Linked DNA regions of Homo sapiens: regions 1 and 3 are each linked to region 2. Evidence: promoter capture Hi-C in 16 types of primary human blood cells and fetal thymus (Javierre and others, 2016). All regions are on one chromosome and are shown on one strand. Each heading gives the region's core, a stretch centred on a gene start or on the middle of the fragment in contact. The rest is flanking DNA. Distances are from core to core; before and after follow the strand shown. Region 1 overlaps NOL10 (nucleolar protein 10). Region 2 holds the start of CYS1 (cystin 1). Region 3 overlaps NOL10 (nucleolar protein 10).

Region 1 (2,787 bases), core at 258-2,757, 540 kb before region 2:
TATCACATTTGTTCACCCATTCATCAGTGGATGAATGTCATTATCCAGTTTTTACTAAGTCCAGTGTTTGGACTTAGTGAAGTAGCTAGTCTCTTAAAGATGAGTTCTCTGGCAACTTTCCCCCTCCCTTCATATGGACCCTGCTTTTCTTGTTTCTTTGTGTGTCCTGTAATTTTTTTGTTGGAAGCTGGATGCTTTAAGTAACATAATTTAGGAATTATGGAACTCAGTCCCTCCCCCAGGTCCCCAGGGTTTGTGGTTGTTTGTTTAGTGACTGTCCTGGACTAATTCTATAAAATCTGATTTCTTTCTAACGTGTGACCACTGAAGTCTCTGCTCGTTGCCGAACTGTCAGCTAATGAATAAACAGAGATTTCCTTCAATGCCCGGAACCAGTCAGTCGCCCAGCCTCTGCCAGAGTGATCCTCATGAATGCCCCTGCTCACCATTGCTCTCTCTATTCAAGCCACACTGGGCTGGTCTTTTTACTGATCCACAAACATGCCAAGCAATTCCAACCTCTAGGCCTTTGTAGTTGTCAGGTAGTCTTGAGGGTCACTCCCTCCTGCCCCTTGGGTCCCTGTCCATCATCTCCCCTTCCCCTCTATTCTTCATTGCCTTCTCTCCTTCAGTTTCCACAGCACCAGTCTCTGTCTGTCATACTCTCCACTGCCTCTCCCTTGTTTGTAGTTTCCCCTTTCTGGAAGGTAAGCTCCTTGAGGGTGGGGATTGTTCTGTGTTTTGTCACTGAGTATCTAGAGAGAAGGGAAAGTGCCTGCCTCTTTGTTGAATAAGTGAATGGGGAGGTAACTCTTTGTTGAATAAGTGAATGGGGAGGTAACTCTTTGTTGAATAAGTGAATGGGGAGGGAGCTTAGGCAACCTGTTCTTATTTAAGAATGAGGGCCAGACGTGGTGTCTCACTCCTGTAATCCCAGCACTTTGGGAGGCCGAGGCCAGTGGATCACTATAGCTCAGGAGTTCAAGACCAGCCTGGGCAACATGGCGAAACTACATCTCTACAAAAGATACAAAAATTAGCTGGGCATGGTGGCACACACCTGTAGTCCCAGCTACTTGAAGGGCTGAGGTGGGAGGATTGCTTGAACCTGGGAGGTTGAGGTGGCGGTGAGCTGAGATCGCACCACTGCACTCTAGTCTGGGTGATAAAGTGAGACCCTGTTTCAAAAAAACAAAAAAAAATGAAGAATGAGGTGCTAAAATGCCAACTGGGGCCAGACACGGTGGCTCATGCCTGTACTCCCAGCACTTTGGGAGGCCAAGGCGGGCGGATCACCTGAGGCCAGGAATTTGAGAATAGCCTGGCCAACATGGTGAAACCCCGTCTCTACTAAAAATACAAAAATTAGCCAGGCGTAGTGGCACACGCCTGTAATCCCAGCTACTTGGCAGGCTGAGGCACAAGAATCCAGGAGGCAGAGGTTGCAGTGAGCCGAGATCGCACCACTGCACTCCAACCTGGGTGACAGAGCAAGACTCTGCCTCAAAAAAAAAAAAAAAAAAAAAAAAAAAAATGCAGGGTGGTGTTGTCCACTGGTAGTTTTCATGTGGACCCTTCAGCTAATGACTCTACCCAGATATCAATATCTTAAAGTCTGTCTTCTGGGACCTTTCATTTACTCCAGAGAAGAATCCCCCAGTTTTGTTCTGAGGTGTTAGGGGTTTGGGCTGGTAGAGTGGACGCACAGCAGCATAGGCTTGACTTTGGCATTCCAGGGGCTGGGAAAAGGAGGCGAGGGTCCCACAGTTTGATGTCTAGACTGCCATTAATTGTCCTGACTTTAGCCCCACAGCTCAAGTCACCTGTGCCTGGTGGCATACTCCCCACCCACCCCGCACATAGGGCAGCTTTGGTTCCCCTCCTCCAGAGAATTATCTTCTGGTCTCTTTAGGCATGGTGGGGATTTGGGTGTTCATCAGCTCCATTGTTCCCCCTTTATTCGGGCCTGTGCCTCATCCTGTCGTCCCCCATGCTTAGAGCCTTGAAGTTCTTGTCCCAAGGATTCTGAGAGAGGAATCTTTTCTCTTTGCTGTTCACCTCTGTAAGCTCTCATGTTTACCCGGTTAAGTTTCTTAAATTACTGCATCTTCTTCTTCAGTTCTTTTTGTCCTTAAAGGTTAATACCTTTTAAAAGTTATTTACTGTCATTTTAAAAAGGCTTGACAGCGATGGGGGTACCACTATTAACCAAAAGCTCTCTGTGTTTCTTAACATCAGTTTTAATTTGGTGTTTAAATGTTTGCTTGGGGCGTCCTGTCTCTGCTAGCCCTTGACTGAAGGCACTCTGTCATGTGTATCTCTACTCATAGTGTCACAAAAATTGACTATTGCTTGATGGGCTATTAGTGAGATAGTGGCTTAAGGAATCTTAACAATTTTTTTTTAACTTGGCCTTATTTTTCTTGTTATTTCATTTCAGTCCCTAAATTATCTTTTCAAATATTAAGTCATGGCAGGTAATAGTTTTTCTTTTTTAAAAATAAATCTTTTAAAATGTTGAAATTAAATTGCTTCTTTGCTAATCTGATTTTTAAGAACAAAACACTACAAGTAGAGTACATTTAAATGACTCATAATTACTCACACAAATGCATGTAAACTTGGATATGCAATTAGGCAGCTCATTATGCTGCAAATGCAATTACATGCTTAAGGTCATGGCCACTCCCTCTGGCTCACCCAGTGTTCTCTTGGGTTTATGATCATTTATTAAGCCTCAGCTGTCAGAATTTGAAAATACATGCTGCTGCTCCTAGTGAGGCCTTT
Region 2 (3,049 bases), core at 83-2,582:
TCCTGAGTAGCTGGGACTACAGGCGCCCGCCACCACGCCCGGCTAATTTTTTGTATTTTTAGTAGAGACGGTGTTTCACCGTGTTAGCCAGGATGGTCTCGGTCTCTTGACCTCGTGATCCACCTGCCTCGGCTTCCCAAAGTGCTGGGATTACGGGCGTGAGCCACCGCGCCCGGCCTCTTGTTCTCTCTTAATAATAAAAATAAATGGATGTGAATCTGAGTCCCATTTTTATTCCATTTTCTTAGGCATATGTTTTTTAATGTCTACTCCTGAAGTGATAAAATAGTAGAATTTCAAGTCTGTGGTTGGGAAAGTTTAGCCGAAATTCCATTTTCACAATTATTCTGGAATCCAATCAATCAGGATAAAAGTTAATGTCAAGTCAAGATAGGTGAGTTAAACCCAGGACTTTTGAATTGCCCTGTCTTGGAAAGGCTGGAATTTAAAGTTGCAGGAGGTGGGCAAGGGAAGGAAGTAATCACATTTAAGTAAAACACAGAACCAACCAACAGGAAGGCTCGCTGGGTTTGAATTCGGCAGCTTTGGAGTGTTTTCTAGTCTGGGTTGTGGTTAGTTCACTTAAAAAGAAAAGCGGTTAAGGGAAAAAAAAAAAAAATCCGAGACCAAAAGCTAGACTTATGACCACCACCTAGGTATTTCCTTTTGCTTCTTTCCTGTGGCGGGGGGAGGGCGAGGTGGGGGTTGCTTTGCCTTTCTCCTTCATTTTCAAAGTTTTTCTTTCCCAAAAGTAGTGACTATTTGGAGGTTTTGATGAGGCTCAACCTTCACACATCCAGTCTCCGCTGGGGCAACAGAGGGAAGGAGAAGGCCGGAGGGGGCTGTTGGTGCCCGGAGGATCGCCCCTTCCCTCCCGGGGCGTCTCAGGCCTGGCGGACACTGAAAGGTCGGGGCGCACTGACGGCCGGACCTCGCGAACGCAGCGCGCGCAGCCCTCAGGGTCTTTCCCCCGCCCACCCCGCGCATCGCTAGGGGGCTCAGGCTTTGGGAAGTCCCCCCAAGCTCCCGCGGCCTCCCACGGGCCCGGCGAGCGTCGTCTGGGGAGCGTTTCCATAAATGAACAAACTCAGCCGGGCCCCCCGCAGGGTTCAGCAATTCCAGAAGGCCGGGACAGGGCTGACCCGACGGCGGGGAGCGAGGGGACCCGTGGGCGGGAGTGGGGGGACTGTAGGGGGAGACCCGGGAGGGGAGGCCGCGCCCGCACCCGGTGCTCCTCGCCGGGGTCTCGGGCCCGCCCCTCCCTAGGGCCGGTGTGCGCCCCCTCGGGACGCCTATGCAGCCCTGCCTCGCCCGCCCCTCCCCAGGCTCCGGCTCGCACCCCCGTCCTCCGGCCGCGACCCCCGCCCGGGAACCCTAGCCCCTGGCCGCGGTCGCTTCCCGGACCTCGCCCCGCGCCTCCCCCTGCAGCCCGCCCCGGCCGCACCCCCTAGCGTCCCCGCCCCCGGCCGCGCCCCCTCATGGGGGCCCCCTCGGCGGTCCGGGAGGCGGCGGGCGCGCCATGGGCAGCGGCAGCAGCCGGAGCAGCCGGACTCTGAGGCGGCGGCGCAGCCCCGAGAGCCTCCCCGCGGGGCCCGGAGCGGCAGCCCTGGAGGGCGGGACCCGCCGGCGGGTGCCGGTGGCGGCGGCCGAGGTCCCGGGGGCAGCCGCGGAGGAGGCGCCCGGCCGCGACCCCAGCCCCGTGGCGCCCCCCGACGGCAGGGACGAGACGCTGCGCCTGCTGGACGAGCTGCTGGCCGAGTCGGCGGCCTGGGGCCCCCCGGAGCCCGCCCCGCGCCGCCCAGCCCGGCTCCGACCCACCGCGGTCGCGGGGAGCGCGGTGAGTGTGGGAGCCGCAGGGCCTCGGGGGACGGCGGGGACCCCACTCACCGGCCGCGCGTCCCCGCCCCAGCCCTGGGCGCCGGTCGCGCTGCGCCCCCTTCCAGCCTCCGACTTGCGTGCTCCCCGCTGCCCCGGCCTCCCCGCCCCTGGGCCCCCAGGTTTCCTCCCTCTCTGCCCCGTCTCCGGGTCTGTGTCCAGGCGTGGGGGCGATCGCGCTGGGAGCGGCCGAGGAAGGACACCCCTAGGCGGAGCGCGCCGGGCTCCCGGCTCCCCTCGGGCCCGCGGCCCCGCCTGGCCTTCCCGGGCCGCCCTGGAGCGGGGCGCCGGCGGTGGTGGCACGGCAGCCAGACGGTGGCTCAGAAGCGCCCTGCCGCGCCCACCGGTCCAGATCCTTGCCTTGCTGGGCAGGCAATTCTCATGTTACTGATATTTTTAGGATGCTGCGGAATCTCTTTTGCGCTTCCTATTCTCTCTCCCTGAATACTCGTAATAACAGTCCTGCTGTTCTAAAAAAACAATAAAACAAGCACTCTGGTTTGGCAACCGTCTTCGCTCCAGCAGAGCTGAATGAACAAGATCTTTAACATCCGCTCCCGGGCTCGGGGAGGATGCCAAGGGCCTCGTCCTCCTCCCTGAGGCCCGGGAGGCTTTGCTTAGCAGCCGCTGGGAGCCGAGGAAGATGCCTTCCTGGGTGGCTACCGCACCAAGGAATCCTGAAAAGGCCCCAGGGAGGGTGGGGGAGAGGGACAGCCCCAGGCGACAGTGCACAGAGCTCTCTCCCTCTGGCCCTGGTTCCCTGCTCCTCTCCCTTACGGTCTTTAAAGAGGAAAAGCGAGCTGCAGTGAGTAGGGCTGAATTATATAACAAGATTCCTTTAATACCACATCAGCCTGCAGTTATATAACACTGCCTGGACAAATAGCTGAGAAATTTGGGAGGAATTCACACATAGCAAGGAGGCAGTTAATTTTAGTGTTCATTTTCAAGTGCTTTGGAAACTCGGAGGTGAAAATGAGAGGCAAATAGCAAGAGTGAATGTTGTGCCCTCTGATTTGCTGATATTATTCATCATGGTGACTGCTCGCTCTTTAAGTCATTTTCCAGCTATCCTTTGAGCACCGGTCCCGCTGTGGGTGCTAGGGATGAGGCCACACAGCATAGCCCTTGCCTTAAAGAAGTCTGCAGCTCGATGGGGGAAAGTAGAAAGCAG
Region 3 (3,090 bases), core at 279-2,778, 580 kb before region 2:
CTTCCGGAAATTCCTTGATTATTAGCAGCTTGCAGTTTCATAAGCATAGTCAGATCAGGCTTAACAAATTCATTTTACATTGATTTTCATATTACATCTCAGATTTTAGTTTCTTCTTTAGTTCTTAGTTATCATAATATTGTCAAACTAAATGTTTGCATTTTGTGCTTTTTGAAGTGCCTAAGAGGGGAGGTTTGGCAATGGAAATATTCAAATTTAGGTAATAGAAAATCAGTGTGCTTAAAAATACATTTTGTATTTACACTGGAAGTTATCTGCATACCCATTTTGTGTTTTTGGAATGCAACTTTTCTTTTTTATGTCCATAAAATTTATTAACTCATTTTGAGAAGACATAGAAGACTAGACCATTTGGAATTACCTGCTGTAGTTTAAAAAGGTTTCCCTTCGATTATTCATCTTTGCAACATACCTACTTGTAATAATATTAAAAGATTAATGAGGTCAGAACCTCCTAAGTATATTGAAGGGTTTGCTTTTAAGGTAGTTAATATATTAAACAATCTTAAAACATCTTTGTTTATGTTTTTGTTTTATCATTACAAAATCAAATGATAGACAAGAACACAAAGTGAAAAGTGTAATTCCCTTCCACCCTGTCCTATTCCTGTTTCCTTAGGTAAATACTGTTAATAATTTGCTGTGTATCCTCTCAGGTTTTTCTGTTTGCACAAGCATTTTTTTAAAAACACAAATGTTGGCTGGGTGTGGTGGCTCACGTCCGTCATCCCAGCTCTTTGGAAGTGCGAGTGGGTGGAACGCTTGAGTCCAGGAGTTCGAGACCAGCCTGGGCAACATGGCGACACCTCTTCTCTACCAAAAATCCAAAAATTAGACAGGCGTGGTGCATACCATAGATGCAGCTACTGGGGAAGCTGAGGTGAGAGGATGGATTGAGCCTACAAGGTGGAGGCTGCAATACGCTGTGATTGTGCCCTGCACTCCAGCTGGGCGACTGAACAAGACCTTGTCTCAAACACACAAACAACGACCCCTCATTTAAAAAAGTAAATTGCTTTTTTGTGGACACAATTCTAGTACATGTATATTCACATCATTCTTTGTAATGGCTAATACTCAGTTTAAATGGACGTACTACAGTTTCTCCATTCTGTTTTTTTTTGAGACAGTCTTGCTTTGTTTCCCAGGCTGGACTCGGCTCACCGCAATGTCTGCCTCCCAGGTTCAAGCGATTCTCTTGCCTCAGGCTCCCGAATAGCTGGGATTACAAGCACCTGCCACCATGCCCAGCTAATTTTGTATTTTTAGTAGAGACGGGGTTTCACCATTGGCCAGGCTGGTCTCGAACTCCTGACCTCAGGTGATCCACCTACCTCGGCCTTCAAAAGTGCTGGGATTACAGGCATAAGCCACCATGCCCGGCCTGTTCTGTTTTTTTGGGTTTTTTTTTTTTTTAGACGGAGTCTCTCTCTGTTGCCTAGGCAGGAGTGCAGTGGCACGCTCAGCTCGCTGTAGCCTCTGCCTCCCGGGTTCAAGCAATTCTCCTGCCTCAGCCTCCTAGTGTGTGGGATTACGGGCATGCGCCACTATGCCTGGCTAATTTTGTATTTTTTTTTTTTTTGGAGACGGAGTCTCGCTCTGTCGCCCAGGCTGGAGTGCAGTGGTGCGATCTCGGCTCACTGCAAGCTCCAGCCTCCCGGGTTCATGCCATTCTCCTGCCTCAGCCTCCCAAGTAGCTGGGACTAAAAGCGCCCGCCACCATGCCCGGCTAATTTTTTGTATTTTTTAGTAGAGACTGGGTTTCACTGTGTTAGCCAGGATGGTCTCGATCTCCTGACCTCGTGATCTCCCCATCTTGGCCTCCCAAAGTGCTGGGATTACAGGCGTGGCCACCGCGCCTGGCCGGGATTCTTCTTTTCATTAAAAAAAATTTTCCCCAGCTTTTTATTTTTAAAAAGTTCACATCTTTGTAAAAGTTTAGTGATATATATATTTTGCATTTTCTTTTCCCATAAAAATGTACATGTATTAAAAATGTTTTTTGAACCTTTTGAAAATAAGTTGCAGGCATTATGATATTTCTTCCCTAAATACTTTAAAATGGATTTCTTAAAAATAAGGACTTTTTCTATGAAATAAACAATGTTAATGTGGTTTATTTTTGTATGTGTTTTAAGGATTTCTTAGCAGCTTTTTTTTTTTTTTTGAGACGAAGTCTTGCTCTGTCGCTCAGACTGGTGTGCAGTGGCATAATCTCGGCTCACTGCAACCTCCACCTCCCGGGTTCAAGCAGTTCTTCTGCCTTAGCCTCCCAAGTAGCTGGGATTACAGGCGTGCACCACATACCCAGCTAATTTTTTGTATTTTTAGTAGAAACAGAGTTTCGCCATGTTAGTCAGACTAGTCTCAAACTCCTGGCTTCAGGTGATCAGCCCGCCTCGGCCTCCCAAAGTGCTGGGATTACAGGCATGAGCCACCATGCCCCGCCTTCTACAGCTTTTATTTAAAATTGTTTTTCATTTGCATAGGGTAGAGTGGAGTGCTGGGACCCAAGAACTCGAAACAGAGTTGGCCTGTTAGACTGCGCCTTAAACAGTGTCACAGCAGATTCAGAGTAAGTAGAAATTAATTTGCAATGTAAATGTTCATCAACTTTTAATTTAAGTAATGTGTCTATATTAAATTCAAATAAATTGCTACAGGATATCTGAAATTGTACTTTCCATGATTGTTTTTCATAAAGATCCTCTCCTGTAAAAGCTCACTAGTGAGTAAGCCAGATAGAATTTCTTTCCAAAATACTATACAGAAGGCCTTATTTCTTTAGTTGCTGTACGATTTTATTAAAACAATTACACTACAGGAATTTGTATTCCAATTTTGTAGAATCTAGTGATAGAACCAGGAGTCCACCACAAAGTCCACAGAGGTGTGCTTTGAATTCTAAGGTGGAAGGAAGCAAGTGTTTTTTTAATATTTTCTTGTTCCTGTTTGCCTAATTTCTACATTTAAACCAATCAGAAGAGTTTTCACTATTATACATCCATTTACAGTTTTATGATTATTTCCTGAGAAATGATACCTAGAACCTGAATTTCTGGATTAAAT

The links. Contacts are between HindIII fragments. The CHiCAGO score rates a contact against its expected background, and 5 or more counts as called.
Region 1: a fragment that was not itself captured here is called in contact with the fragment with the promoter of CYS1 in region 2 in 1 of 17 cell types (total CD4 T cells); the score reaches 5.5 in total CD4 T cells.
Region 3: a contact is called between a fragment that was not itself captured here and the fragment with the promoter of CYS1 in region 2, in 17 of 17 cell types (naive B cells, naive CD8 T cells, total B cells and 14 more). The highest score is 21.0, in naive B cells.

The regions. Positions count from the first base shown.
Region 1 is chr2:10,614,965-10,617,751 of GRCh38, reverse strand. All of the region lies in intron 13 of NOL10 (nucleolar protein 10), which reads left to right. Among named protein-coding and RNA genes, the nearest start is that of NOL10, 74 kb to the left of the region's middle. The HindIII fragment of the contact is 5,417 bases long and covers 1-2,787 here.
Region 2 is chr2:10,078,694-10,081,742 of GRCh38, reverse strand. It overlaps CYS1 (cystin 1), which reads left to right and starts at 1,332. Exons shown (of 3, transcript NM_001037160.3): 1 at 1,332-1,837. The coding sequence starts at 1,520. RefSeq lists silencers at 1,018-1,257, 1,428-1,487, 1,548-1,787, 1,858-2,197. The HindIII fragment of the contact is 11,698 bases long and covers 1-3,049 here.
Region 3 is chr2:10,662,465-10,665,554 of GRCh38, reverse strand. NOL10 (nucleolar protein 10) reads left to right here. Exons shown (of 21, transcript NM_024894.4): 9 at 2,511-2,596. Among named protein-coding and RNA genes, the nearest start is that of NOL10, 26 kb to the left of the region's middle. The HindIII fragment of the contact is 3,499 bases long and covers 1-3,090 here.